5 separate regions of the Homo sapiens genome follow, and regions 2, 3, 4 and 5 are each linked to region 1. The links are contacts of gene promoters, found by promoter capture Hi-C in blood cells and fetal thymus (Javierre and others, 2016). All regions are on one chromosome and are shown on one strand. The core of a region is centred on a gene start or on the middle of the fragment in contact, and the rest is flanking DNA. Distances in the headings are between cores, read along the strand shown.

The links. The method cuts DNA at HindIII sites, captures the fragments that hold promoters and counts their contacts. A CHiCAGO score of 5 or more calls a contact.
Region 2: a fragment that was not itself captured here is called in contact with the fragment with the promoter of TCF12 in region 1 in 2 of 17 cell types (activated CD4 T cells and non-activated CD4 T cells); the score reaches 5.6 in activated CD4 T cells.
Region 3: a contact is called between a fragment that was not itself captured here and the fragment with the promoter of TCF12 in region 1, in 1 of 17 cell types (fetal thymus). The highest score is 5.5, in fetal thymus.
Region 4: a contact is called between a fragment that was not itself captured here and the fragment with the promoter of TCF12 in region 1, in 2 of 17 cell types (non-activated CD4 T cells and total CD4 T cells). The highest score is 7.6, in non-activated CD4 T cells.
Region 5: a contact is called between a fragment that was not itself captured here and the fragment with the promoter of TCF12 in region 1, in 1 of 17 cell types (fetal thymus). The highest score is 5.6, in fetal thymus.

Annotation. Positions count from the first base shown.
Region 1 is chr15:56,914,967-56,920,838 of GRCh38, forward strand. It overlaps TCF12 (transcription factor 12), which reads left to right and starts at 3,678. Exons shown (of 21, transcript NM_207037.2): 1 at 3,678-3,940; 2 at 4,926-5,022. The coding sequence starts at 4,948. TCF12-DT (TCF12 divergent transcript) reads right to left here and starts at 3,533. Exons shown (of 4, transcript NR_015419.2): 1 at 2,574-3,533; 2 at 2,099-2,246. RefSeq lists silencers at 2,838-2,977, 3,498-3,627, 3,798-3,847, 3,938-4,227, 4,278-4,717. The HindIII fragment of the contact is 11,533 bases long and covers 1-5,872 here.
Region 2 is chr15:57,236,460-57,242,331 of GRCh38, forward strand. The region is part of intron 12 of TCF12 (transcription factor 12); the gene reads left to right. Among named protein-coding and RNA genes, the nearest start is that of SNORD13D, 39 kb to the right of the region's middle. The HindIII fragment of the contact is 1,306 bases long and covers 2,059-3,364 here.
Region 3 is chr15:56,606,364-56,612,235 of GRCh38, forward strand. No RefSeq gene overlaps it. Among named protein-coding and RNA genes, the nearest start is that of ZNF280D, 120 kb to the right of the region's middle. The HindIII fragment of the contact is 1,312 bases long and covers 1,485-2,796 here.
Region 4 is chr15:57,219,017-57,224,888 of GRCh38, forward strand. The region is part of intron 8 of TCF12 (transcription factor 12); the gene reads left to right. Among named protein-coding and RNA genes, the nearest start is that of SNORD13D, 57 kb to the right of the region's middle. The HindIII fragment of the contact is 811 bases long and covers 3,189-3,999 here.
Region 5 is chr15:56,636,484-56,642,355 of GRCh38, forward strand. The region is part of intron 20 of ZNF280D (zinc finger protein 280D); the gene reads right to left. Among named protein-coding and RNA genes, the nearest start is that of ZNF280D, 94 kb to the right of the region's middle. The HindIII fragment of the contact is 2,125 bases long and covers 2,105-4,229 here.

The DNA of each region.
Region 1 (5,872 bases), core at 2,428-4,927:
TATTTCAGAGGCTGAGGTGGGAGGATCACCTAATCCCAGGAGGCAAACGTGCAGTGAGCTGAGATTGTGCCACAGCACTTTAATCTGAGCAATAGAGTGAGACTCTGTCTCAAAAAAAAAAATCTATTAGATTATAACTTTCTTGAGGGCAGTATGGGTTTTAGACTTTCTGTCCTGAAACATTTAACACCATGCCCGGCATGTGAGAAATGCACATTAAATACTTTTCAATATTAACTTATCGATAGGGATTAACTTATACTACACAAATAGTACTATTAATTAACACTGAATTTGTATTACTTAGTTGTTTCTCTCTGAGCTTTTCAATAAAGGCTTCTGGCCCTATCTAGATGTGTCAGCAAAGGCCCAGAAATGAGTTATAAGTGATACAAAACTCCACTTTTTATATTCTTTTTGTCTTCTATATAAGTCAGAGCTATTATAGGAGATTCACTGGTGGGAATCATTTTCTCTTATTAAAAATGACACAAGCAAAGGCTATATTATGAAAAATAACTTCATGTTATAATGTCAAATGAATGATAGCTTTAATTCCAGCTCCTCCTTTTTGGGTCTACTATGCTCTTGGCACTACGTTAGGTGCATGGTACTGACAGATGCATGTCAGTCCGAACCCTCAAGGGGTTCACAATCTAATAAGGAAAATAAATTATAAAGTAAAACTATACGGGCCATAATAGATATGAAAAACTTCACCAATCAGTCCCTAAGTAATGAGGGAGCCCCTATGACTGAAGGTTTGGGCAGACAGATATTCTTCCTCTGCACTAGTTGTGTGAGCAGGATGAGAAGAGAATCTTGAAAACAGCATGAATCCAACATGTGGGATCACATACCTTCTCCTTCTGCAAGATTTCTTTCCAGTTTTACTGTGGAGTCATAGAATCTTATCACAGTGCTATGGTTTCAATGTGTCTCCCAAAGTTCATGTGTTGACAACTTAACCCCCAATGCAAAAGTGTTGAGAAGTGAGACCTTTAAGAGAAACTTCTAAGAGGGTAGAGCCCTCATGAATGGATTACTCTCTATTGTGTGTGCTCACTTGCCACGGGATAACACGGCAAGAAGGCCCTCTAAAGATGCCAGTGCCATGCTCTTGGACTTACCGGGCTCCAGAACCATGAGCCAAATAAACTTCTTTATAAATCACTCAGTCTATGGTATTCTGTTAGCAGTAGGAGAAAATGAACTAAAACACATGGGAATGGGGCCTTAAAAATGATCTAATCAGACTTCCTACCTGACGTTTATGTCTTTGCTACTAAAAAAATGGTCATTGGGGTGGTACTGTGTAGACCACACTAGATTACAGACAACAGAAAATTCGAATCCTATTGGTCTAATCAGTGAAGATAGACCTGAATTCAGAAGTTGCTTGATTCAGAGCCTCAAAAATGTCACCAAAGCCAGGCACGGTGGCTCACGCCTGTAATCCCAGCCCTTTGGGAGCCTGAGGAGGGCAGATCACTTGAGGTCAGGAATTCCAGACCAGCCTGGCCAACATGGTGAAACCACGACTCTACTAAAAAAATAAAAAATTAGTTGGGCATGGTGGCGCGCACCTGTAATCCCTGCTATTTGGGAGGCTGAGGCAGGAGAATCGCTTGAACCTGGGAGGCGGAGGTTGCAGTGAGCCGAGATCCTGCCACCACACTCCAGCCTGGTGACAGAGCCAGACTACATCTCAAAAAAAAAAAAAAAAAAAGTCACCAAAGATCAGATCTCTATGCATGTTTGTTTTCTTGATGTCTTCTTTATTTTAACCCGGCTAGACTTGTATTTGGAAGATGGCTACCCACCATCCAGGGGACCCGTTTTTTTGAGGACATGCAGAAAGAATGGGTTACCTCTGAAGCGCTCTCAGAAAATGAAAGAAAAACTTTTCCCAACAAAGACCAGGAAATTGCTCCTCTCATTGGCCCAAATATGTTACGCTCATTGCCAGCCAATAACTGTGGCAGGGAATGGGATTCTGCTGATTTAGGTTGGAATTATGCTACGTTGCTTAGATTGGGACCACATGCCCCTGTAAGTAGGCAGAGCAGGGATGTGACTCAGAACTGGGCTTGTTTACCAAGATAAGGAAGAGTGGATACTGGGGAGTCTAGGCCACCATAAGTTTCAGGTACAGCCAATGCAAAGCCTTGGAAATCCACCTGACAGCTCCGGTTGTACCGTCCGCCCTCCGTATCTGGGGTTTCCAAATTCCGGGATTCAATCAACTGAAAACAAAAAATGTAGTTAGGCTTACCAGGCCTGAAAATACATGAAAATATAGAGCCTAAAATATAGCCTGAAAATGTACTGAAAATATAGAGATTTCTTTGGATGATTATTTCCTAAATACACCTTAACAACTATTCACATAGCATTTGCATTGTATTAGGTTTTATAAGTAATCTAGATATGATTTAAAGTATATGGGGAAACACACCATTTTTATGTAAGAGACTTGAACATCTTAGAAAATCCAGAGTCTGGGAACCAATCCCACGGATATAGAGACAACTGTACTAACTACAGTAATGGCATATGGTAGCTGAATCTACCTCTCTTTCCATCCCAGTCCGGAATCCAAAGGCTCCTTCTTGCCATGTTGTCCTCGGGCGTTGGCTGCTTCCTCCCATTTGTTACTTTGGAAGTGTCTTCTTTCCTCAGTGTTTCTTCTGCGTGGGCCTTACCGGTCTTTACTGCACTCACTTACCTAAGAGGCAAAACAATGGCTGCCATTCAAGAAAATCTCACTTCAGCCCAGAATCGAAGAACTGGGGCTTATTTTGTCTTCTTTCTACTCTGGGGCTTCTCTGAGGCCAAGTTCAGAACTTGTGCACAAGACAGTGGCTGTGTGACAGAGCCACCCAGGGCTGTCTCCGTTAGATGAAGAGACTGGCTTGATCCATTCCCAAGAACTAGTCCCACGTGCAGTTCGGTTGCTCCGAATGGGATTTGGGTGCGAGGGGCTGACTGGAGATGTGGGGTCTGGGTGAGTGGGGTATTTGAGAACCTGAAGCTCACAAGGCTTTGTCTGGTTTGAGGTACGTTTTGCCCTTTCTCCCGCATTCGGCTCTGCATCGAATCTGACCGGCCGCGCCTACTCTCGGAACGGCCGAGGAGGATGGGTCTCCCGTCTCCACACGCGCGGTGTCTGCGCCGACTGCAGCCCTCCTGGACGGGAGCCTCTGGGCCCAGCTTAGGGTGGCGTCCAGCGTGACCTACTCGGGAATGGCAGCCTTCAGTGTCCTGCGGCCTCGGGTTCCGGGAAGCTCGGGGACCTGGGCAGCGGATCCAGATGCTTCCACAGCTGTGTCTCCGTCGCTCCGCTTCGGGGGCCGAGAACCAGCAAGACCAACGCGAGGAGGCGCCACGGTACCTGCCACCCCGCTCCCAGGAGGCCCGGACGAGGCTTCGTCGGCGAGCGGTCGGGGCCTGCTTCTCGAGGTGCCTGCGAGCGCCTCATGCCCCTCCCCACCGGCCCCAACTCCGTCCCGCCTCACCCGACCGCGGGCTTTGTCCACCCGCCGCGGTGCGGCTCCTCCCAGTCCCCGACAGCTCCTCCCCGCCCCCTCTGCCGGCCCCACTTCCTAGGCGGCGGAGCGGGTCGGGGAGGGAAGGGTTAACCCGCGGCTCTTCCCGGCGCGGAGGGATCCGGAGGCGAGCCGAGCGCGGTGGTGAGGCCGCCTCAGCGAAAAAAATGTCCGCCTGAAGAGACCCACAAGTTCTATTCGGGGGGACCGACAGCCCGCCCCGGGAGGAAGGGGCGGCCAGGCCCGAAAGCCGCCTCCCCCTCCCAGACCCGAGAGCTCGTGCGGGGCAAAGTGAACCGAGCCGCTGGGCGGTGCAAGGGGAAGCCCAAGCCCGTTCTCCCGGCCAAAGTGAACTTTAATCGGGGTGGTTGGATGCGGAGACGGGGCGGCAGGTAATTGCGGGCTAGCGAGCGGGAGTGGGGCGGCGCGGCGGGGCTGGGGGCTGCGGGGCGCCGCCGCGTCCCTGCCGGAGTGGGGGCGCCCCCGTCCCCCGCCTCAACTCCGCGCCCCTTTGTACAGCGCGAAACCCGGGGTCCCCTCCAAGTTGGGGAGCGGAGTGGGGGCGGAGGCTCGAGTCGCGGGCGCTCAGGCCCGCTGGCGGCGCGCTCGGCCTGTGCGCCCCGTTCGGTGCCCGACTCGGGCCGGCGCCCAGGCTCCGGGGCGCGCGGGAGATCGGGCGGCTTCGGCCGCGGAGCCAGGCTCATTGTTCGGCAGGTCCGGGGCAGGGCAGCAAAAGTGGGAGGAGGCCGAGCCTGGGGAGGAGGACGCCGGCCGAGAGCGAGACTAGTTGTCGGGGTTTCTGTTTTCTGTTTAAAAACGCCCCTTGGATGAGCTGGGGGTGCTTTCCGACCTCCTGGGCCCGCCGGGGACGTCCGGGCGGCGGCGGCCGCAGACGCGGGCCTGCGAGCGGCGCGTTCCCTGCAACTTGTCAGTTCTATTGTTGCCGAGCGAGTGAGTCACTTCGCATCTCCGCTCGCCGCCGCTCCGCTCGCTGGACGCCGAATTGCCCCTCACCCCGCTCCTCGAGACCCCAGCCGCGGCCGGGCCCGGCGCGCGGAGCACCCGGCGGCGGCGCGGAGCAGGGGGCGCCGAGGAGGTGGCAGAGACTGGCTCGGAAACTTGGGGGAGAGGCGGCGAGTTGCGGGAGCCGCCGCGTCGATCTCGGGCCGCGGCGAGGAACGCGTGGATTCCGGGACCCGGCGCGGGCACTGAGCCCTCCCGCCCCTTGCTCGCGCCGCGGTGGGAGCGAGTCGGGGTCCTGGAAGTCATCCCGGCGCCCCCAGCGCTCTTGCGTAATCTTCCCCAGTACCTCTCTCTGTTCCCTCACACACTTTGGGCCTCGGTGGTCTCTCGCTGAGCCCGTTTCCTCTGCCCTAGGACCTGCTAGAAGTGGCCGAAGATGAATCCCCAGCAACAACGCATGGCCGCTATAGGGACCGACAAGGAGCTGAGCGACCTACTGGACTTCAGTGCGGTATGAGAGCTTTCCATGGCATCTTGGGGTTCTGCTGAGGTTTTTGTTTGTTTGTTTGTTTGTTTCTTTTAAATAAAGGGTGAGGGGAAGCAACGTGGAGACTAGGCAGCGTGAACTCCATCTGCTTTCTGCTTAAGCAGTAGTTCTCAGGGCTGGAGTCCAGCTCCCCCAAGTTGGACACCTGAACTTTGATGTAATGTCTAGACTTGCACATTTAAAACTTTAATGCCAGAGGGGTCATTTGATTTAACCAGTTAAAAGGAGAACAATGTAATTATGACCTTTGGTTGAGTCACCCTCCCACCGCGATGATTATTGGGGATCTTGTACTTTATATGAAAAAGTGTTGTTTTTTTCTTCAGTACTCCTCACCATTTTCCTCTCCAGTATCAGATGTAGTTTATGGTACCTGAAAGATGTCAGCGACAAGAAAAGTAGTCCAGAGCTAGAATTTCGAGCCTTCTGAAACAGAGTACTTTTATTTTATACACACACACACGTGTGTGTGTGTGTGTGTGTGTATTATGTTCTTAACATGGGAAATGACTTAAAAACATCAACTGAAACCTAAGGGCCCACTGCTTTTATTTTTAATGGGTTTAATTCCTTTATTAACTGCTGTTAGGAGGCAGCACCTATACCTGCTTTATACAATTCAGTTATAATCCTTACTGTATGTAGTAATTTAATGGGCCATAATTCTGACTGTGTATATTGAGATATAATGTAAATGTAATGAAATTCACTTAGTTCTGCAGTAAAGATCATGTGTAATACTATACTGTTTAAACTTAATAATCTTGGACTCTTCCATGTAAATGATCGGGTCTTCAGAACAAAATGTAACCAT
Region 2 (5,872 bases), core at 1,462-3,961, 320 kb after region 1:
TCTTTTGAAATTTTAAGTTCTTTAGAATGTGACGCTTTTAATATAGCCTCTGGTTTTAGATGGAGAAACACTATGCTATTGTCATTAAAAATTAATTCTATTTCCCCAATTGTCTAATATATGTCTTAAAAGATCTTTCATATTGTGAAACATCAGAGGGTACAACCTTTGTTCTTCAGTTTAGGTATTAAAGAGCACACAGAATACTGTGTGATTAAACATGTAAGGCCAGATAATGCATTTGCAAAGGTTCCTTTATTTTAGGTTTAAGCCTGCATAATTGTGGTCTTAATCTCAGGATAGCAAGAAAGAGAATTGTACATGAAAGTATTTACACAAAGTTCCCAAAGCCCTGTGGATTATGCATTAGTTTAGATAAAAAAAAAGAAAAAAAAAAAACCTAGGGTAGATAGAAGGAAAGGAAAATCTGGGTATTCGTGCCATTTCTAATGTGTTTCCCTGAACATTTGCCAGACAATAACCCTTTAAGATTGTGCCCGTGGAGAGTTATATAGAGGAAGAAACATCTGGTTTCTTTCGGTGCCTAATACCATATCAAAACACTTGGTCTTTAATTTAGAGGAGATCAAACAAGAAGACTGTTTAACTTTGTTGATTATATCAGACTTCTTTGTGATAATTTATGTTTTGATTTCTACCTCAGAGCAAGGGAAAAAGAGAGAGAGAGAGTGTGTGTGTGTGTGTGTGTGTGTATATGTATGTGTGTATTAATCTGGATAAATGGTCAGTAGTCTCTAACAAAAGAAAAGAAAATTCAGGGAAGTTGATGTTTAAAAGTAATTCATGAAATAACTTTCTTTGTTCCTTAGACTCAATAACATTAGCATAATAAAGATTAACTGAAATGTGCACTGTAGTGTTTAAAAAATTGGGCTCACAGTTCCGGGGTTGGGCTTGGGAGCAGTCCATTGTTTCTTTTTTGTCTAAAGCCCTTTTCATTAGCCTCTGGCTTATTGGCACCCTGCTGATTGGAATAGACCATGACTGATAGGAGGAGGAGTCTCATTTGTTGGAGTAAAATGAGGCATATTACCGTTTAAGCCTGGCAGAAGGCATTGGGAGTTATTCATTATTGGTCATTTAACAGTATGAGGACCATGGACTGCATGCAGAATGAGTGCTTACTTTGTTTATGCTCTAGACTCTAAATCACTCTTTACCCCCATTTTTTTAAGTAACTGATTTTGTTCTTCTTTTTATTCTTACCTTCAAACATCAATGTAGGAGTTCTTTTAAGTCCAGAAAGTATGAAAAGAAACATATTCCTGATTTAGAATAAAGCCAAATAAAGCCTGTGTTTAGAAGTTAAAGTAGCACAATTTTTATAGAATAAGTATGATTTGTTTGCGATTTGGTAATAAAATAAACACTCAGAGATAAAGCTTAGTGAAATGACCTGTGATCCAAAAGGCTGTGTTATCATGCTTTTCAAATGTTGTATTGCTCCTCCTCTCCCACCATACACATTCTTTTTATGAAAGTAAAAGTGATTTTTTAAAAAGTCCTGTAACTTACAGGGCTATCTGTAAATTTAGGAAAAGTATTGATAACAATTCTGTCTGTCATCACTTTAACTGGCAAAGTAGAACCAGTGACTGTGATGGATGAGTGGAAAAATTGGCTTTTATTGTACAAATGGAGAAGCTGCTTTTGGAAAAAATACCAGAAATGATATATTTTTATACTTGATATGTTTTTGGTGCTGTTTCTCCCGTTTAGACAGTGATTTTTTTTTTTAAGTTTACACCAGTTTTACATATAGCATTGGGGCATTTCACCAAGTCATTTAAAGATAGTGCTCTTATATGACTCTAAACTATTACCTCTTCCTTCCTTGATATAAAGGAGCTTTCACCAGTTGTTGACATGGTTAGGGATTGTTTAAGTGTAAGGACAGAGTTTTCAGGGAAAATCGGGATTGGTAGTCCATTTCTACCCTCAAAAGCCCATGCCTACCTAACAGTGTGATATGGACAGCTTAGTACATCAACACTAATTCCCAGAAATAGTGAAACCTCACCATATGATTATTCTCAAAGCTTATGCCATAAAACTGATTTGAAATTAAGTCATATTTATAACAAGCTCTTTTGCCCTTGGTATTTCTGTTGCTGACCCACATTGTATAAATACCAAGATAAATACTACCATTTATTGAGTCCTGCTTTTTATCAGTTAGTATTATAGCAAATTTCAATTGTAGTTTAATCACTCAAGTTAAAAATATATATATTGGGCACCTACTTTTACAAGATACTGGCATACAATAATGGATTCAATGTTGACCAGTATAAGTTTCCTGTCTTCAAAGAGCTTGTAGTCAAGGAGAGAAGACAGATATACAAATAATGATAATGTATAACACAGTGTGAAGTAAAAGAGCAGAGAGAAGTTCAGACTATTTTCTAAGAGTATAAGGAAGGTGAAAATGTATAAATGGGGAAGTGACATTGGAACTGAGCTTTGATAAGTAGAATTCCATCTGGGAGAGGTTAAGAAACAAGCGTTCTGAAAGGAGGACAAGCTGTGTTTAGAAAATGAAAAAAATATTTTGTTTGCATAATAGGGTATGTAGGTTAAAAGTAGACTATAAGGGCTAGGCAACACCACGCCTGTAATCCCAGCACTTTAGGAGGCTGAGGCAGTGGGATCACCTGGGTCGGGAGTTCGAGACCAGCCTGACCAACACGGAGAAACCCCGTCTCTACTAAAAATACAAAATTAGCCTGGCATGGTGGTGCATGCCTGTAATCCCAGCTAGTCGGGAGGCTGGGGCAGGAGAATCGCTTGAACCCAGGAAGCAGAGGTTGTGGTGAGCTGAGATTGCACCACTGCACTCCAGCCTAGGCAACAAGAGCGAAAGTCCATCTCAAAAAAACAAAGAGGAAGAAAAATTAGCCGGGTATGGTGGTACACGCCTATGTAATCCCAGCTGCTTGGGAGGCTGAGGCAGTAGAATCACTTAAACCTGGTTGCAGTGAGCCGAGATCGTGCCACTGCACTTCAGCCTGGGCAACAGAGCAAGACTCCATCTCAAAAAAAAAAAAAAAAAGTTTTTGAGGACAGTAGTTCAGGGCAATTATGTATAGGATGGAAAGAGAGGGGAGTAACTAGAAATATAAACACTTAAGTAGTCCAGCCGCAAGTTTGAGTAAAGATTTAAAGTGGTGTCATGGCAGTGATTATGACATGTGCCTGTCCCAGAAACATTAGAGAATTGTGGATATCGGTGTCTCCAGAGGGAAGGGTAGAGTGGCAGAGGAAAAGAGGAGAGAGTACTTATGGTAACCATAAGCATGGTGCTACTAACCTAAATAGAAGAGTAGAGATGGGAAGGATGGGAAGCTTGGGGTGGTGATAAAAAATTTGGGTTTGGACATAACTGCGCTTGAGATGAAAAGAGATCCTGTCCAGATAGAAAAGTCTAGCAACCAGTGTGACAAGAGAGATACCAATTTAGGAGTCATACCTGGATGTGATAGTTGATATTTGACAAAGAATACTATTACCAAGAGATAAAGCACAGGGAAATGAAAGAATACTGAGACTAGAACTCTGGGGAAACCTACATTAAGGGAAATGGAAGAGTAAAATAGAGATGGACCCTAGGGACTTTATCAAATACAAAGACTGAAAAGAATCACTTAAATGGAAATTCCTGGCAAGGATTATGCTTTTCATTCTTAATGACAACTGTATATCTGTACATTGAACCCTCACCATTTATCTGCACTGTTGTGGAATCTGAGGCTACATTAATAAGACAAATTCCTCATTCTTCTGGGGCTTATATTTTACCATGGGAAAGGATAAAAAAACAGGTAACAGACAAATGTAGATGATTAGAAATACAGTGTAAGCACTATGAAGAATACGAAAGAAGGAGTATGTAACAGAAAATGCTGCTTCATGAGTTGGGCTAGTTGACAGTTTTGCATAGAACTGACGATTTCTCACTCATCCATCCACCATCAGTGTTATCAGCCTTTCCCTCCCTTGCCAATATTGTAGTCAAGACATATTTCATAAAGATGAGCATCAATTGCTCATAAATGGTATAATTATTTGAATTATGAACATAAGAAATGGTGGTTTTCAGTGGTAAAGAGGTATGTTGAGGGCCGGGTTCAATGGCTCACGCCTGTAATCCCAGCACTTTGGGAGGCCAAAGCAGGCAGATCACTTCAGCCTAGGAGTTCAAGACCAGCCTGGGCAACATAGCGGAACCCCATCTCTACAAAAAATACAAAAATGTTGGGTGTGGTGGTGAGGGCTTGTAGTCCCAGCTCCTTGGGAAGTCAAGGTGGAAGGATTGCTTGAGCCCAGGAAGTTGAGGCTGCAGTGAGCCATGATTGCACCACTGCATTCCAGCCTGGGTGACAGAGCAAGACCCTGTCTCAAAAAAAAAAAAAAAAAAAAAAGAAAGGGAAAAGGTATGTTGAAACATGTTTTGTTTCTGTTGAAGTTTGATGACCTTCCCTAATTTACTTATGTGGTTGAAATAAATCAATGTATGTGTGCAAAGCCACTAAGAACAAAAATGTACTTTCCCAAGCTAATTTTCCCATGTGTCCAATGAATGTTTTAAAAGGTAACAACTTAAAAACCAATAATATTGATTTTTTTTTTTTCATACACTGTCTTACTCTGTCACCCAAGCTGGAGTGCAGTGGCTCGATCTCGGCTCACTGAAACCTCCACCTCCCAGATTCAAGCGATTCTCCTGCCTCAGACCCCGCGAGTAGCTGGGATTACAGTCGCCCACCACGCCCGACTAATTTTTGTATGTCTAGTAGAGACGGGGTTTCAGCATGTTGGCCAGGCTGGTCTCGAACTCCTGACCTCAGGTGATCCACCTGCCTCGGCCTCCCAAAGTGCTGGGATTATAGGCGTGAGCTACCGCACCCGGCCTATTATTGATCTTATACTACCTCTCTGTTACTAGATCCTCCCAAAGTGTTTTGAACTCTTTTCCATAGCTTTACTTTTCCAAAATAGCTTTTTAAATAGAGTATACAGTGTCTAGATCCTGAAAATAGAGTATACAGTGTCTAGATCCTGACTGTTTGAGATAGTTGATGTATAAAGGCATTTACAATTATAAGTTACTAATGTCATACAAATTGGCGTATTTTGTTTGAAGTGCATATATCCATTTGTAGTCAAAGGAAGGTAGACTTTGGGCTGCTTACAATTTGAAAGCCTGTTACCTTTTTAAAAAATGAAATCTGGTGGGCCGTGGTGGCTCACACCTGTAATCCCAGCACTTTGGGAGGCCAAGGTGGGAGGGTCATCTGAGGTCAGGAGTTCAAGACCAGCCTGTCCAACATAGCGAAATCTTTTCTCTACTAAAAATACAAAAATTAGCCAGGCTTGGTGGCACGCGGCTGTAGTGCTAACTACTGGGAGGCTGAGCGGGGAAAATCACTTGAACCTTGTAGGTGGAGGTTGCAGTGAGCCAAGATCATGTCACTGCACTCCAGCCTGGGTAACAGAGTAAGACTCCATCTCAGGGAAAAAAAAAATGAAATTCGTAAATTGTGACTTGTATAGTTTTGTTGTATATGAACCTGTCCCAATAATCTGGCTTTGTCAAATCTTGAAAGAACATTTTTATGCTTTCTTTAAAAACAATGTTGAAATTCCTTGTATGCTGTAAATTGGGTCTCTTTAAATTCATTAGAGCTCTTAAGTTTATTCAAAGCAAGGTCATTTCTACTGGATGACTTTTTGCACTCACAAGTAGTTTTCCTTTTTAAAATATTTGACCACAATTTATCCATATAAGTTGGTTTGTCTGCCCTGAGTGCTGAGATACGAAAATGATTATTATGCATATTAAAAGAATAGG
Region 3 (5,872 bases), core at 891-3,390, 310 kb before region 1:
AGTGCAGTGGCACGTTCTTGGCTCACTGCAAGCTCTGCCTCCCGGGTTTACACCATTCTCCTGCCTCAGCCTGCAGAGTAGCTGGGACTACAGGTGCCTGCCACCACGCCTGGCTAATTTTTTGTATTTTTAGTAGAGAAGGGGTTTCACCGTGTTAGCCAGGATGGTCTCAATCTCCTGAACACGTGATCTGCCCGCCTCAGCCTCCCAAAGTGAGTTTTCTAAGTTTTTATCATGAAAAAGTGTTGGATTTTGTCAAGTATTTTTTCTGCATCAACTGAGATGATCATGTGGCGTTTTTACATTCCATTAATATGGTATATTACACTTATTTTCTCATGTCAAAACACCCTTGGATTCCTGGGATAAATCCTATTTGGTCATGGTATATAATCTTTTAATATGTTGTTGGATTTGGCTCGCTAATATTTTGTTGAGAATTTTTACATCTATATTACTTAGGGATATTGCTCTGTGACTTCCTTTTCTTGTGAGGTCTTTATCTGATTTTGGTATCAGGGTAACGCTGGCATCAAAAACAAGTTAGTAAGTGTTCTCTTCTACTTTTTGGAAAATTGAGGATTGGTGCTAATTCTTCTTTAAATGTTTGGTATAATTCACTGATGAAGCCATCTGACCCTGGACTTACCTTCATTGGGAAGTTTTTGGTTAATGTTTCACTCTCTTTACTTGTTATACCTCTATTCAGATTTTCTATTTCTTCTTGAGTCGGTTTTGGTAATTTGTTGCTAGAAATGTGTCCATGCCATCAAGGTTATCTTTTTTTGGGCATACAATTGTTTAGAGTATTCTCTTATAATCCTTTTTACTTCTGAAAGGTCAATAGTTGTGTCCCCACTTTCATTTCTGATTTAGGTATTTGTGTCTTCTTATAATACTTGATTAGTAAGTTATTTTTCTTAAACTAGCCAGAGCAACTATTTTTCTTAAGCTAGCCAGAGCAGCTTTTCTGCATCCTAAAAATAAGAAGCCAGAGTATCATAGAAGGCATTCTTGACTTGCTCTTGGTTTGGTGGAATTATAAAGTTTGCTTCTACCTGAAATTTCTCTACTTAGATTCAATTTCTATGGACAGTTTTAAACAACATGTTGGCCTGGCAGTGAGAGTGCTTACATGTCAAATTTGTTAGGTTTTGTTTATTTGTTTTATGCATAGTCTCCCTTACTATTGATGTTAATTATAAAATTATTTTAAGAGTTGCAGTTCCGGGTAAGGTGGAGTAAGCACACTCCACTTTGACTCTCCCACTGAATGCGGCTACAAAACCTGGACAGAATGCATATAACAATGTGGAAGGACTGTGAATACAAGATAATAGTATGAAGACTAAAGAACAACGAAATTTGAAGTGGAGTAGACCTAACTGGTAGTGAATAGACCCTTTTCACCCCCCTTTAGTATTTCTCAGTGTGGATTTAAGGCAATCTATAATGTGGAGATAGGTATTGGTATAGCTAGAGAAAGCTTCCAGAGAAGCCTTCTACTCAGGATCAAAGAAGAAGATAGAGATCTCCCGATAGCTACAGGAGCACCAAAATTCTGAGAGGGAGAGGGTTACTTTCCAGAGGTGCTATAGTCTCAAGAGAGTGAGGTGAACACCATTTCTTTTTAAATTCTAACTTCCCTCCACTTATCCCTGGATATGAGTGCAGACATGAAAAATGTAGGGCAGGATGGGGGGTAAATAAAGCCACAGTATTACAGATGGAAGATCAAAAAAGAGGCTTAAGGGACTGGAAGTTACTGGGGAAAATACCTAAAGGGAGGATCTTTGGAAAATTACCAGATAATGTTGTTTATGAATTTCTGGTATCACTTCTGAGGGATGCATGTGTGGTTCTGATCATAAACCAACATACCAAAGACTGAACTAAACTAAGAGATAAACCACATGCCAGGTTTCAGAATGGCCACTGAGCAGCATACATGTGTGACAAATTTGAATAAAACTGAAGGCTTTGAAAATGAAACTGACATTGAAACCACAACCCACAGAAGCTGGTTGGAATTTGCAGCCAGAACCCAATAAGGTCAATTGCCTACTAAAACAAATATATCAACATTCTCCATAGGATTTAAATAAACCCAGAGTCCCTTAACATTATATTTGAAATTTCCAGGATACATTCCAAAACTACTTAGTATATGAAGAACTAGGCGAATCTGAGCTCACATGAGAAAAAGATGATCAACACACACCAATGCTGATTTGACACAGGTGTTAGAATTATCTGACCAAAATGCTAAAGCAGCTATTATTAGTATAAAGGTGCTCCAGGAAGTAAGGACATACACTCTTAAAATGAATAAAAAGATATAAAGTCTCAGCAAAGAAACTGAAGACATAAAGAACCAAATGATAATTTGGGAACTGAAAAAAATATGTAATCACTAAATTTTTTTAAAAAAATCTCACTAGATAGTCTTAATAGCAGAATGGAGATGACAAAAAAATGAGTCAGTGAATTCGAAGATAGGTTAATAGAAATTACCTGATCCGAAAATAAAGAAAATATTTCTTAAAAAAGTAAAGAACCTAAGGAGCCTGTGGGACAGTACCAAAGGTCTAATGTTTGTGTTATCAGAGACTGACAAAGAGGAGAAAGGAATAATGTCTAATATCATTTCACATCCACTAGAATGGCTACTCCCAGAATTCCTGAAATTAACATGTGTTGGCAAGGATGTGGGAATTGGAACCTGTGGATTCATAATTAGGGAAAAGGAGTCAGGCTGGCTGGACACCAAGGCAAAGCAAAAAGAGAAAGCAGATAAGCTTCAAGTCTGCCTTTCTTCATGGTCCACTACACATTGCCCTCCTGGGTCCAACTATCATCAGACACCTGCAAGTTAGCTCACTGCAACCTTAGCATTATCAGTATTGCCTGTAGCACTCTTCAGCATAAGAAGCATTCTTGTTCTTATTTCCTTGTTTCCTTGCAGTCAGCTACTCTTCTGCTGATTCCACCTATAGCTCCCTGGCAACGTACTTTTATACTTTCTTTAACCAATCTGCCTTTCTTTACCTACAACTATCTTGGTAAATTCTTTTACCTCTGTGCCACCAGCCCAGACAGTCATCGCGCACCCAAGACGGAACCCTTGTAAATTGCTGGTGGGAAGTTAAAATGGTGCAGCCACTATGGGAAGTTTGGCAGCTCCTCAAAATGTTAAATATAGAATTACCATATGACTCAATAATTCCACTGCTCAATATATACCCCAAAGAATGGAAAACTGGGGCTCAAACAGATACTTGTACACAAATATTCCTGGCACCATTATTCCCAATAGCCAACAGGTGGAAACAACTAAAGTGTCCATCAAAAGATGGACAAACAGAATGCACAAAATTTGATATATATGTACGATGGAATATCACTCAACCACAAAAAAAGAATGAATTCTGATACATGCTACAACATGAAGTTGAAAAACTTATGCTAAGTGAAATAATTCAGACGTGAAGACAAACACATATTTTATAAGGTATCTAGAATACACAAAGTCATAAAGACAGAAAGGATTAATAGAATTGAAATTACTAGGTACTAGGGGCAGGGGGAATGGGGAGTTATCGCTCAATGGGTAGAGAGTTTCTGTTTGGGATGATGAAAAATTTCTCAAAATAGTGGTGATGGTTGCATAAAACATTGTTTATATACTAAATGCCACTGAATTATACACTAGAAATGTCAAAGTGGTAAATTTTATTTTCTGTATATTTTACCACAATAAAAAGGGGGAGGATAAATAACAGCAAAAAACTCCTCCCATATTTTGCAGAAGATATAAACTTACAGATTCAAGAAGTTCAGTGAATCTCAAACAGGAAAAATCCCAAACAAATCCACAACCAAACACTGTGAGAATTGATTATATGAATTGGAGTTATCATGCCCAATTAAATTAGAGTCAGGAGACCAGGGGAAGAAAAGAAAAGAAAAGCACTCAGGGCACAAGTGCCTGCCCAGGGACTGTCTCCTAAGCCAACTGCCAAAATGATCTGCTACAACCTTAAGACTATTTTTACCTAGTAGCTGCTAAGATGAACTGCCATGACTTTAAGCCTAGTTTTACCTACCCATCATTACTCACCAATCAGAGCTTATGAGCTCCCAAAAACTTTCCTAATGCCAATGAGTTTTCTTACAAAACAATACATAACATTTCTCTAATAAAACCCCCAACCTTTTCTCTGCTCTTTGAAGATACCAAAGACCACCCTGGTCTGTGTACATGCCCTGAATGGTAATTCCGTTTTTCCAAATAAAACATTTTCTTTAGAGTTTCATCTCTATCATTTTATTTGACTTTGATAACACCATAATCAAATTGCTGAAAACTAAAGACAAAGAAAAAATTTGAAGGTAGCCAAAGAAAAACAATGCCTTATCATAGAAAAGAACATTGATTCACATGACTACTGATTTATCACCAGAAACCAGAGAGACTCAGATGAAATGGCACATTTTTTAAAGTGCAGAAACAAACAAAGAAAAAAATCTGTCCACCTAAAATTCTATAGACTATTAAAATTATTTAAGAATTAAGATGAAATAGACATCATTAGAAAAAGGAAAACTAAGATCATTTGTTGTCATCAGATCTGCTCTAAAATAATTATAAAGAAATGTCTTCAGCCAAAAGGAAATAGTACCTGAAGGAAACTTGGTATATTATGCATAAAGGATGAGCAACGAAAATGGTGGCTACCTAAGTAACTATAACAGACTATTCTCCTCTTGAGTTCTTTAAAATATATTTGATGGCTGAAAGCAAAACTCGTAACATTATCTAATGGGCTTTTAATGAATATAAATGTAATATGTATGACAACTATAATGTAAAGCATGGAGGATAAAAGAACATACGTGGGTGAGGTTTCTACATTCCAGTTGAAGTAAAATATTGATTCCAAGTAAAAAGTGAATATGCAAATTGTGCAGCTACTCTGGAAAGCAGCTTGCTGGTTTCTTGTAAGTTAAACATACACTTACCATTTGACCCAGCAATCCTACTCCTGGGTATTTACAACAGAAATTAAGACATATGGTCACACAAAAATATGTACATGAATGTTTATACCAACTCTATTCATAATCAAACAGGAAACAACCATATGTCCTTTAATGGTGAATGAATAAACATATTATTTATAGAATGGATTACTACTCAGTAATAAAAAGGAATGAACTATTGATACATGCAACAACTTGTACAAATCTCATAGACCTTATGCTGAATCAAAGTCTCAAAGTGTTACATAATGTATCAGTCTGTCAGAGGTGTTCGAACCAGGGTGACTCCGTCTTGAGTGAGGGCTGGGAAACTGAGGCTGGGACTTGCTGGGCTGCATTCCTAGAAACTAATGTATTCCTAGCCTCTAGATGTTTACGGTTAAGGGAACAGATGGATAATGTTTACTAAACAGATCCAGACTTGGGAGTGTCCTGATATCCTGCTATCTTGAGAAGAGAAGCATTCCTAGTTTTGCTTTAATGGTAATATCGATTATTGTAAAATACAGTAATTAAGAAAATTAATCCTTTATCACAAACCCTTGTAGCAGAGCACATCTCCCAATGATTTTTTTTATCCTATATATATAGACAAGTATCGTACCTAGGGTGGACGTGTTCCTCCTCTTACTTTCGGGAATGCCCTACTCTGTCTATGGAGTAGCTGTACTTTAATCACTTTACTTTCTTAATAAACTTGCTTTTGCCTTGCACTGTGGATTCGCCCTGAATTCTTTCTTGAATGAGATCCAAGAACCCTCCCTTGGGGTCTGGATCGGGATGCCTTTCCTGTAACAATTTCATTTATGTGATATTCTCAAAAAGAAAA
Region 4 (5,872 bases), core at 2,344-4,843, 300 kb after region 1:
GTGTTTATCAAAGTTGAAGCAACTTTAGACCATGGCAGATGGTAACGCTGGAGGTGTAGCAAGCTAGGTTTCTCTGCCACAAGTGCTCTAATTTAATTAAAACTAAAAACAGATTAGCAGAAAATCTGTCAGTATGCCTTCCTTTTGTGTGTGTATATATGTATATATGAGACAAATCTAATAATTTCTTGGGTTATTTTTATTCAGGGCATATTTATTTAGCGCTTAAAAGTGACTTGCATTTTTTTAATACCTCAAATTTTGTCTTATTGGTATCCTCCACCAATGCAAGGACTTGATGGAAATTGAAAGAGGTTACTTACAGCATAAACCCTCCCTCTGTGCTCTGTGAGTTGGTTCAGTCCTATTTTGCATAAGTTCCTTTTGAGTAGATCCATGTGTGAATGCATAGTACTGAAGACTTACTCCCTTTGCCTGTGTGGATATATGTCTTGGAGAGAGGCTGTGTGCATTAGCTACAAATAGTAACATTTTCAAAATCAACATGTATTGTGCTTATCCTGTCCCTGGAATGGGCAGCAATTCTTTGATGTATTACTACAATGGGAAAACGGTAAGCCTTTTTCTTTGTATAGCTTCTAACTCACTTGTTTAAAGGAAAGCAGTATACATTACTCGCTTTTTACTAAAATCTGTGAGGTTTTGTTTTATCCTTTTATGCAATGTATTAGATTGTAGATTTCTTTTTTTTTTTTTTTTTTGCGGGGGGACGGAGTCTTGCCCTGTCACCCAGGATGGAGTGCAGTGGCTCGATCTCGGCTCACTGCAACCTTCGCCTCCCGGGTTCAAGCGATTCTCCCGCCTCAGCCTCCCGAGTAGCTGGGATTACAGGCACCCGCCACCATGCCCAGCTAATTTTTGTATTTTTAGTAGAGACGCGGTTTTATCATGTTGGCCAGGCTGGTCTCGAACTCCTGACCTCAGGTGATCCACCCGCCTCGGCCTCCCAAAATGCTGGAATTACAGGCATGAGCCACCGCGCCCAGCCTAGATTGTAGATTTCTTTAGAAGTAGTGTCAGTAAAGTCCTGTCTGCTACATAGCTACTCAATAGTTGTTGGCTTTCATTTTATTTTTAAGATAGTGTAGAAAATAAACTTGAGTTTCTGAGTTGTTATTAGCCTGATATCTTTACTAGCAATGAGCTTGAAAGTACATTTGTTTTTATGTTTTCGTATATTGTGAACAAATCCTTACATAAAATATGTATATACACACATATGTATTGAGAATTATTTGATGCTTTGTAGATGGAAGGAAAAGATGAAAGTCATCTAGGATATTCATAAAAATAACAAGTATGAAGCTCTGGTAATGATTAGGGAAGCAGTCAGCTAGTAAGGGCCGTATTTCCTGTTTAGAGTTTCAGGTCCAGAGCCTGACTTCTCTGGGATACCATCTGTTTCCAATCAAACTAGAATTTTGACCTTGTGTGGATTCATGAAATAAATCACTATTTTTTAAAAGAATGCATTTATACATTTTCCAAAGAATGCACTGTACTTCTGGTTGATTTATAGCAAGCACATGACTAGGTGTTTTAAAATAATACTTTTTTGTTTTGCTAAACAAGAGTTCTATTCTTTAAATTAATTACCTAATGTTAATAATTTACTGTGTTTCTACAAAAAAATCTATAAGCCAGAGGATTTTATATATTCTAAAAAAAAAAGAGTAAACTCGGAAAGTTTCAATAGGAGCTATCTTTGTAAGATACTTGATAAATATTATTAAAAGGTACACTAATGAATAACAGTGTTGGTTTATGTCAGAAACTCAGTGTTTTCCTTCTAAATCTTTCACAAATAATTTTACCCTCAGGTGTCTTATGAAAAAATGCATATATGGGCTTAGTGAAGGGGGGGAGAGGGGAGCATTTTTAATGTTAATGTTTTAAGTTATAGAGAATATTCAATTACATTTTACTAAAATGGGCTTAAAATTAGATATGGTTGTCTCTTCCCTTTTCATCACTTGGAAATGTTTTAAAGTAGCCTATGGCTACAACTAGGATACTAAGAACTAATAAAAGCACTTTTTCATTCACTGATTGCTTTAGTAAGGGCTCTTTGGACTGGGCCAGTGTTTGGTTGTGAACTTTTGGGTAAGCTTTCAAAAAAGATAAGCAAGTCAAAATATCTTTAAACTCATTAAAAAGTGTATGTTCAAGCTGCCCATATAAGCAGAGCTTTGGATAATGTAAGAAGTAGATTTAGATGGATGAGTGAAATTATTTAATCTCTATATAATTTTCTTGCCAGCTGTCTTTCAAATGTGAAAATAATTTTCTTTTGTGTCTGATTTTAAGTAAAACAGTCTGAACATGGTATGTGGGTATGTGTGTGGGGTGTGTGTGTGTGTGTGTGTGTGTGTGTGCACGTGTATAAGTTCAGTAAAATTAATTATGTAGGACCCTGAACCAGACTAACTCAAAATGAGTTTAGATTTTATTCTTTGGAAAGCACAGGTTACTGTATTACATTTCTCTTTGTTCTACATTGGGAGGGGGGTAGGGGGAGCTTTGATAGTGGTATTTCCAGGCTTATGGTAGATGGCATAGCTGGTATGGTAGAGAGCCTGGAAAAATTGATAGTCTGTGCCTAATATAGGTCAAAGGTGACTTTTATGTTCTGGAAAAATATATAAATAAAGAGATGATATGTTGGCTTAGTCCTCCAAATCATAAGACCCTAGACTTGTATGTATTTTATTTTTACCCACCTCTAGTTTTTAAAATTATTCTCTAGTAGTTATTAGAAGTCATTGGCAACATTATTATTTTGTGATGACTTCAGTTTTCTTCAATAAGAAAATCGTGGTATGTAATTACATTGTCTCAAGATTATATAAATGTATTATTTTAGTGTATATTGGGAAATGTCTGCTTGTCAATGCCTTAAAATAAAAACTAGCACTTTCATTAACATTTCTAGACTCTTAAGTGAAATATATGTCTTCACTTAAGTTATAGAAGTTTAATATACTTCTTGTCATGAACAGGTTAAATTTAAACTATTTAATCTCATTTTATAGATTTATTTTAAAATGATAGAACAAAATAATATTTTGAAATACTAATAATAAGTTCACATTGATTCATTTTTAACATCCCATTTCAGGTTTTATGAGAGAGTGACAAACCCTAAGTGGTCCTGCTCTTAAACAGAAAGCTTTCTTTCCCTTTTTTCCAGTTTTTTTTTTTTTAGTTTTCGAGTTGATTGCATATATTTAAGGGTATTTCAGATCTTTTAATAAAACTGAACAAACTCTAGGAAGAGACCAAAGAACTTTTTTATATTTTATTACCTAAAATTGTATGGCCAGTATTTTATTCTTGGATATGTAACAGACTTGGGCATGTAGGTGTAGAAAAGAAAAGCCAAAAATGTTAATGCAGTTTTTCCTACTGCTTAAAAAGAGAAGGGGTTAATGTTTTGTATTATATGTAATTTTTGTGTAGCTGTATTCTTTATCATGTTGTAAGGTATTAATGTGGGTTTATAGTAAGTATGAAAACTAAAACTATTTTGCACCTTATACTGTTTTGAAATATAAAAAATAGTAGAGAACAGTGGGTTTCTGAGGTTCCTTCTTTATAAAGAACTCTGCCTGCATTCAGTTTTCTCATTAATTTGAGTAAATTTTGTCCTTTACACAGAAAGTGAGAAAAAAGTCTTGAGAGCAAAGGAAAGAAAAGTTTTGGGGGAAAAAAAGGACTGCCATTTTTTTTTTTTTTTTTTTTTTTTTTTTTTTTTTTTACTTTTAAGATTCTGGAGTGCCTTACTCCATTTTTCTGACCAGTCTCCATTTTTCTTAGTTTTGGGACTAAAGATGCTACAGAGTATTCCAGGTATAAAAATTGCCACACAAACAGACATGATGGCCTTTTCATTGTATGAGGAAATTATTTTAATCTTCTGAGAAACAACACAGAAATCCAAGTTTTAAAATTCAAGCTAGACGCACATTTTGAATATTAAGCTTCTTTGAATGGAATCTGGGAAAAAAAAGAAACTAATTTGATTGTAAGGGCTATTCTGTGGGAGGAACTGTGCTGGGAACTTTGTTTATCTGATTTAATTTTCACAACCACTGTCATTTAGCTGTTACTAGCTCATTTTATAAATAAGGAAAATGAGGTTCAACCTCACCTATTTTGTAAGTACTGAGGTCAGAATTTGAACCCAGGTCTATCTGTCCCCCAAAAGCACATTTTCTCCTTTGTATCATCCAAGGACATGTAAATTAGTCTCCATAGCAAAGGGCCAAACTGAATTTATCCTGACTACCCATTTACATTAAAATATACTACATTGGATCCAATGTGTATTTGGATATGTAAAAATACATATATATACTACATTGGAAAGAAAACGTAACTGGGAAAAGCACAAGGCCACTCTTACAAATCTTTTGCATGTGTGGTCAGAGTAACAATTTCATGAATACTAATTGATGTGGTTAGTCAAGCAAATTTTTGTCAACTTTTGTTTAAGAATTTAAAATTAAAACTTTCAGATACGTTTTAGCAAGTCTCCTCTTCTAATAGAATTAATCATACTGAAAATTGGTTTAGCCATGGTTTTGGCACCTGCCTACCAATGAGGTTTTTTTTTTTTTTTTTTTTTTTTTTTTAGAAATAGAGTAGCAAGTAAGTAAAATTACATTGTAAATACTTATAAGACTTATTTTTAAAACAAACATTTTCAGTTAATAAAAGAACAGAAACCGATGTGACTGTATACAGCTGCATTTCTGTTCTATTGGGGTATTTATTGCTAGTTAACATGAGAGAAGAATATACAATTAAATTAATTCACATTTCCAGACTGTCCATGGGCCCAAAAGAGTTAAATCTAACATTTTTTATAATAGGGAAAACATGAAGTCATTTTTAAAATCTCTTAATATAGAATGCTAAAGACATTGAATGACAAGGACTTCAGCATAAACCTACTTCACATTTTTCCCCTTTACCAAAAATATCTGCGACTATGGTGTGTGAGCCCAAGAAAGTTTTCTTATCTTGATTCAAGTGAGTACAAATACTAGTGAGTTAAAACTAGCTCCTGCTAGTTTTACATACTAGAAGGTATGTTGTCACTGGTCAACTTTATGAATGTTTTTGAGAGAAATTTGTGTTCCTTTCCACTTGTATATCAAAGGGGATCAGGTGCAATATTGTTGAATCTAAATTTTTTTTAAAGTAGGTAGGTAACGTGTCAGTCATTGATTTGTTCAGTATATTATCCTAGCAAACAAGTTTCAAACCCTGTCCCTTAGAAATTCCATAATTGAAGAAAAACATTGAGATTATTAGAAAAATGATAGCACTTATCGTAGAAAATCAGTAATATGCCCAGTGATGTTAATTTAAGATTAACTAAAATGTGCTTGATTTTCCTAGAAAACCAGTGATATGCCCAGTAATGTTAATTTAAGATTAATTTAAATGGGCTTAGAAGGAATTTTTCTCACAGTTGAAAACCAGTAATGTTCACCTGTGTTTGTTACACAGTAAGAGCAGCAGTTGGTTTTAAAATGCTTTGTATGAAAACTAGAATTCATTTTTCTTACTGTTGTTAGAAAAGAAATTTCATTTTATTTTCCCTGGAAAATAAACATGTCTCTGGAAGTTTTTGGAAAGAGATATTGGTCCTTTTACTTAGGAAACTGCTGAAAATATAAACACATATTTATCCCTTTTACAGAATTTCAAGTTGTATTTTTAACAGGCTAATTAGGTAAAAAGAATCTTCCGTGGAGATGGCTTGTATGTGCCTGAGTCAGTCTTTGTACTTCAGACGTTTTGCTTTATAATACCTGTGGTTTCAGTTCTTGTGGTATTTTTA
Region 5 (5,872 bases), core at 1,917-4,416, 280 kb before region 1:
TATTTTTTTTTTTTTTTTTTGACAGAGTCTAGCTCTGTCACCTAGGATGGAGTGCAGTGGTATGATCTCAGCTCACTACAACCTCCACCTCTCAGGTTCAAGCGATTCTCCTGTCTCAGCCCCCTGAGTAGCTGGGATTACAGGTACCCACCACCATGCCCGACTAATTTTTGTATTTTTAGTACAGACGGGGTTTCACCATGTTAGCCAGGCTGGTCTCAGACTCCTGACCTCAGGTGATCCACCCACCTCGGCCTCCCAAAGTGCTGGGATTACAGGCATGTTCCACCATGCCCAACTAATTTTTTTTATTTTTAGTAGAGATGGGGTTTCACTATGTTTGTCAGCCTGGTTGTGAATTCCTGACCTCAAATGATCCACCCACCTCGGCCTCCCAAAGTGCTGGGATTACAGGAGTGAGCCACCGTGCCCAGCCTAAAAGTTAACTTTCTGAAGTGGAGATAGTCTAGACTTATGAACACCAGGAAAAGTAAAAGGCAGGCATGAGATACTGAGAAAACAAAGTTTTAGTAAAAGTCCACGTACTTAACAATCCTTCTCCCTGCCTGGCTTCCAGAATGCCAACAGCCAGAGAACTCACTCCCCAACCTAGCACTCTCAGCTAGAAGCTAGATTTCTCTCTGGAGAAAATGATCAACCCCAAAGAAAAAATTTTCCAGAATGAATTTTTTTTTTTTTTTTTTAAGAGACAAGATCTCACTCTGTCACCAAGGCTGGAACGTAGTGGCATGATCATAGCTCAACTGCAACCTCGAACTCCTAAGCTCAAGCAATCCTCTCACCTCAGTCTCCTGAGTAGCTAGGACTACACAGTATGTGCTCAACATGACTGGCTAGTTAAAAACATTTTTTTTTTTTGTAGAGACGAAGTCTCCAGTGTTGCCCAGGCTGGTCTCAAACTCCCAGCCTCAAGGGATCCTCCTGCATTAGCTTCCCAAAGTGTTGGGATTACAGGCATGAGCCACCACACCTGGCCTCTCCATAATGATGTTGAGACCATCCTCCTCAACAAAGAATCAGTCAGTTCAGCACCTAATTTTCCCACACTGAAGTCTACGCAATTTTCATGCAGATTGTGCACACAGTACAGTGCACAAATCCAGAGGGCAACACATTGTAATTCATATCATCCGTTTCCAAAGTATGACATATGGACACCTGGAGAATCCAAGCCACTTTCAGGAGGCATCTGAAGTCACAACTCTTGGCATAAAAACAGAAGTGTGTAAAAATGGTGGCAAATTAATATAAATCAAGGCAGTAGCAACCTGTACTAGTAGTCATTGTATTCTTCACCACCATACACATTGTATTCTTCACACCACACCGAGACAAGTTAAAAAAAAAAACTTTATTAAATCTCAATCTTTGAGCTCATATCTTTTTAATATTTTGTGTGACAAAATGCAAAGAAAGTATGCATAAGTCACAACCATTGCCTACTGAAAATATTTGGGTCTGTGATTGAGTTGTGAGTTGTACTTAACCACATTTTTTTCATAGAACAGGATCATTTTTATTTTAAAGAATGACTGTCAAACTATGAATATCTAGACTAGAGTTTCAGTAGACTTTTTCTTTTTGAAAAATTAACAAAGTGAGCCTGTCATATCAAGGAAAACAACTGACAGTATTCGTTTCCAGTAATAAAATCAAGCAAAAACTCCTACCCACCACTGATTAGATTAATGCTAATATTTACTGTGAGTGCTTGATATTATATAATGAAATATTTCAACATTTGGAAGATCCAGGGCACTTAAGGGGCCAATAAGTTCCAAATGACCAATGCATGATATTACAAAATTAGGCATGGATAAAAGATCCATTCAAAATATAAAACAGACAAACAGATTTTGATGTAACAAAGCAAAAAAAGTCAGTGATACGGAGCTAGATTCCACAGTGCAACAAGCAAGAAAACTTCCACTTTTGGTGCAGTATCAAAGGAGAATAATCACAATTATTGGAAAAGATTATTGAAGTACTGGGTGAGGCTGGGTATTCTTCATACATTTCAACCAAAAGAATGTATCACAACAGATTGGATTCAGAAACATGAGAATCCAATTTTTTTCTACTAAGCTTGACATTAAAGAAATATGCAAAAGTGTAAAATCAAGCCATTCTTTCTCACTAAATTTCTGTTGCTTTGGAAAATAGTTATTTTTCAGAAAAAAAATGTGATTTATGTTAACATATATTTATTATTTTTATTTTTGACAATAGTTTTAAAATATCATTATTTCAATTTCTAATATGGTAAACATTAGTAATTTTTGAGACTACAAAGGATATATTTAAATAGTATCCGCAGGAGTTCTGCAGTGTTCAACCTGAATGGCTATGCAAGACAGCCCTGTCTCCATTCAAACACATACGGTTTTCAATGATTATTTTAGCCTCATTCTTTAATTATGTATGGGCGGGTAAGGATCACCACATAACAAAAGACATACCTTAACATGAAAAATACCAAAAAAAACAAAAAGGAATAAAGAAAGGGGCTTGGAGACATCAGATACATTGCTGGGAACAAAAGAAAAAAGTATATATACAATATTTAATATCTCCAAAGAGGTATATGTTATTATATCCATTAAACAGTAACAAAAACTGTAAAAAAGAGAATTAAAGAACAAATAAAAAGTTACAGAGCTCTTCAAAATTACAAATATGGCAACTAAAATAAGTAATTAAGTTTAGAAAATTATTTAAAAAGATTGAAACAAAAAAACAAAAAGATGAAAGGCCAGAAAGAAAATAACATACAATTAAATGAGCTAAAAAAAAAAAAGGAGTTGATGCAGGAGGCTCAGTGTCAGAACAATGTCAGAACAATAGGAGTTTCTTAAAAAAAGGAGAACACAGAAAATAAAAGTGAGCATTTACCACAGAAATGAAACAAGAAAACTTCTCCCAAACAGAAATCTCCAAACTCCAAAGGTTTGTCAGATGCCTAATACAATGAATGAAAAAAGGATGGGTGAACATATCATGCGATTTCAAAACACCAGTGACAGAGATAATCACTAAAGTTTCCAAAAAGAAAAAAAGTAACCTAAATACCAAGAAACTGGAGCAAGACATGCATCAGACTTAATACAAATACTGGATATAAGAAGATAGTAAAAACAACATTTTAAAAACTGCATGGGAATTATTTTTATGTACTTCAGCCAAACTATCATTCGCATAAATATATTTTTAGATATGCAAAAACTGAAAAAAGATGCACACCTTCTCAGGAAGCTAGTAGAGGACACAATTCATCAAAATGATGAGTAAGCCAAGAAATGAGGAATAATTCATGGTTCAGCAAACAGGACATCCAATACAAGGGAGTGGCAAAGGATAATCTTGACATAACAAAACTAAGCACAGGCTTAGGGAGCAACTAGTTTAAGTTGAGGCGGGGAGTCTGGGAGGAGATCTTCAGACCCCTTCACTCCCCAGCGATTTTTTTTTTATGTGTGTGAACACTGGAAAAACTATTTCCAAATATTTGAGAGAGAAATTGCAACGTTAGAAAAAAATACAGCATTAGGTGCACAGAAAACTAAACAAACGAGTAAAAAAGATACATATTTTTAACTCCAGAAAAATAACATAAGGTACAGAAAAGGAAAAGAAATCATGGGGTACTTTCTGGCTCAGCATAACAGTCTCAAAAATTTTGATGTAACTATTCTGCAATCAGTGCTATACCAAGCCATATTGAAGCCTGAGGCAAAAGAAAAAATGAATGCCCCTATAAGTTTTGCTTTGTGTGTGGTGTGTTTTTGTTTTGTTTTTTGTTTTTAGCAACAGGGTCTCACTTTGTTTCCCAGGCTGGTCTCTAACTCCTAGACTTAAGCAATCCTCCCAGCTCTGTCTCCAAAGTGATGGGATTACAGGTGTGTGCCATTGTGCCCAGCCTGTTTCTGTGTATTTAAAAAATTTTTTTTCTAGAATGTTAGTCAGAAAAATATTGAAAAATTTAAAAGTAGGAGAATTAAACTCACATTAGCTTAAACTTAAAGATTTTATTTATGCCAAAAACAGTATTATTTTATTCTCCTGGCTAATGGAAGCAAATGCATCAACAGTACATTTTCAAATCTAATTCTTTTCTTATTTTGTTTTCAAATGAGCAAACTGTCATGTACAATTTCTCTTGAACAAGTGACAATCATAAAAAAATGTTATATTAACTTCAGTTTACAGTAAGCTTCATTTGCAGGATTCCACTGTGGCTGGAATTGTTTAAAATTTTTGAATACCATTTCCAAATCTGTTTAAGACTGCACTAAGCAAAATATGTTAAGAAGGTTTAGAAGACCCAAACACAAACTTGATTGTATGTTATTGATATCAAATGCTGCTTTAAACTATTTCATATAGAATTTCTATAGAATTTAAATCGTCAGAATATTTAAGTGCAAACTTAGTGGCTCGTCTTTGTAAATCAGATGTATTTATACAAAACAATTTTTCTCCAGTTTAGAAATTCAAAATCTGAAAACATTTCACTGAATTTTTTATATCTCTATACAAAATATGAAATTAGGGCATTTATAATCTTAATTTCTATTTAATAAGCACTGCCCTCATAATTATCAATACTCTTCACCCAGTGACTCATGCATTTCTCATTTGTTTACTTTTTTCATTTATTTTAAAATTTGAGAAGAATATGCATATCTCTTGCTCAAGTTTTATGTTCATCAAATACACTTTCAAAATTACCTTCAATTGTTGTAAGCAAAGGGATAGGCCTTTTATTAAGTGTGTAGCTTTATATTAGTCATGTTTACTGACTGTAAAGCTTTAGCTTCTTCCACTTGGCTCAAAATATCCATACAGATAATCTGCATAACACTTTGTAATCTATTCATACCAATATGCTTTCAATTTCAGCATAATGTATTTTGTCATTTGATATTATATCTTTTAATATTTGATAATCATCTTTAATTTGTGTGCAAAGTGTCTCAACTGCATTTATCTTGATGCCCATAATGTAACTATATGTGATTTTAATGTCGTTTTTAGACCAGACAAGAATATCCTGTTTGCTCACTGAATTCCCCTACCCCTAAACTATATATCCTTTGTACAATACTAAAAAAGTTGATCATATTTAAATTCACAGAATGCAGCATTTTCTTCTGTTAAATTATGATGAGTTAAACAAGGAACAAATTAGGCATAATTATTTTAGGGGCAAACAGTGGCTTGTATACCCCTGTATAAACCGGAAACATTTGCTCCATTATATCCCTGGCCAGAATTTTTAATGTAAATGCGATAAACAGAAATGAAGACTACATAAAGAAATGAAGAGTATAGGAAATGGTAAAAATAAAGGTAAATATAAAGCTAATTTTAAAGTTTTTAATTGCCCTAAAAAAACTGTCTAAAGTAAAAACTGTAATACTGCATTCTGTGTATTTACAACATGTTTAAAATTAAAATATATAATAAGAATAGAAAAAGCACACAAACTGTCAATATCATGAATGAGAGGGGATATCACTGCAGATTCCAAAGATTACAAAGACAATAAGGGATACTATAAGCAACTTTCTCAATATACATAAGATTCGAGTTCAACATATTAGGTAAAATGAACCCATTCCTCAAAAAAACTACAAACTACCAAAACTCCCTCAAGAAGAAATAGATTAAAAAATTTAAAAACCTGCATCTGTTAAAGAAATTTGTAGTTGAAAAACTTTTAAACAAAAGAAAACTTTCTATGGTACAAAAGAAAGCTGCTTGGAAGAAGGCTGATACTTCTGCCTGGATTTCACTTATATTATGCGCCATTCAAGACAAAGTATTCAAAAGATAAATGTCAAATCTACCT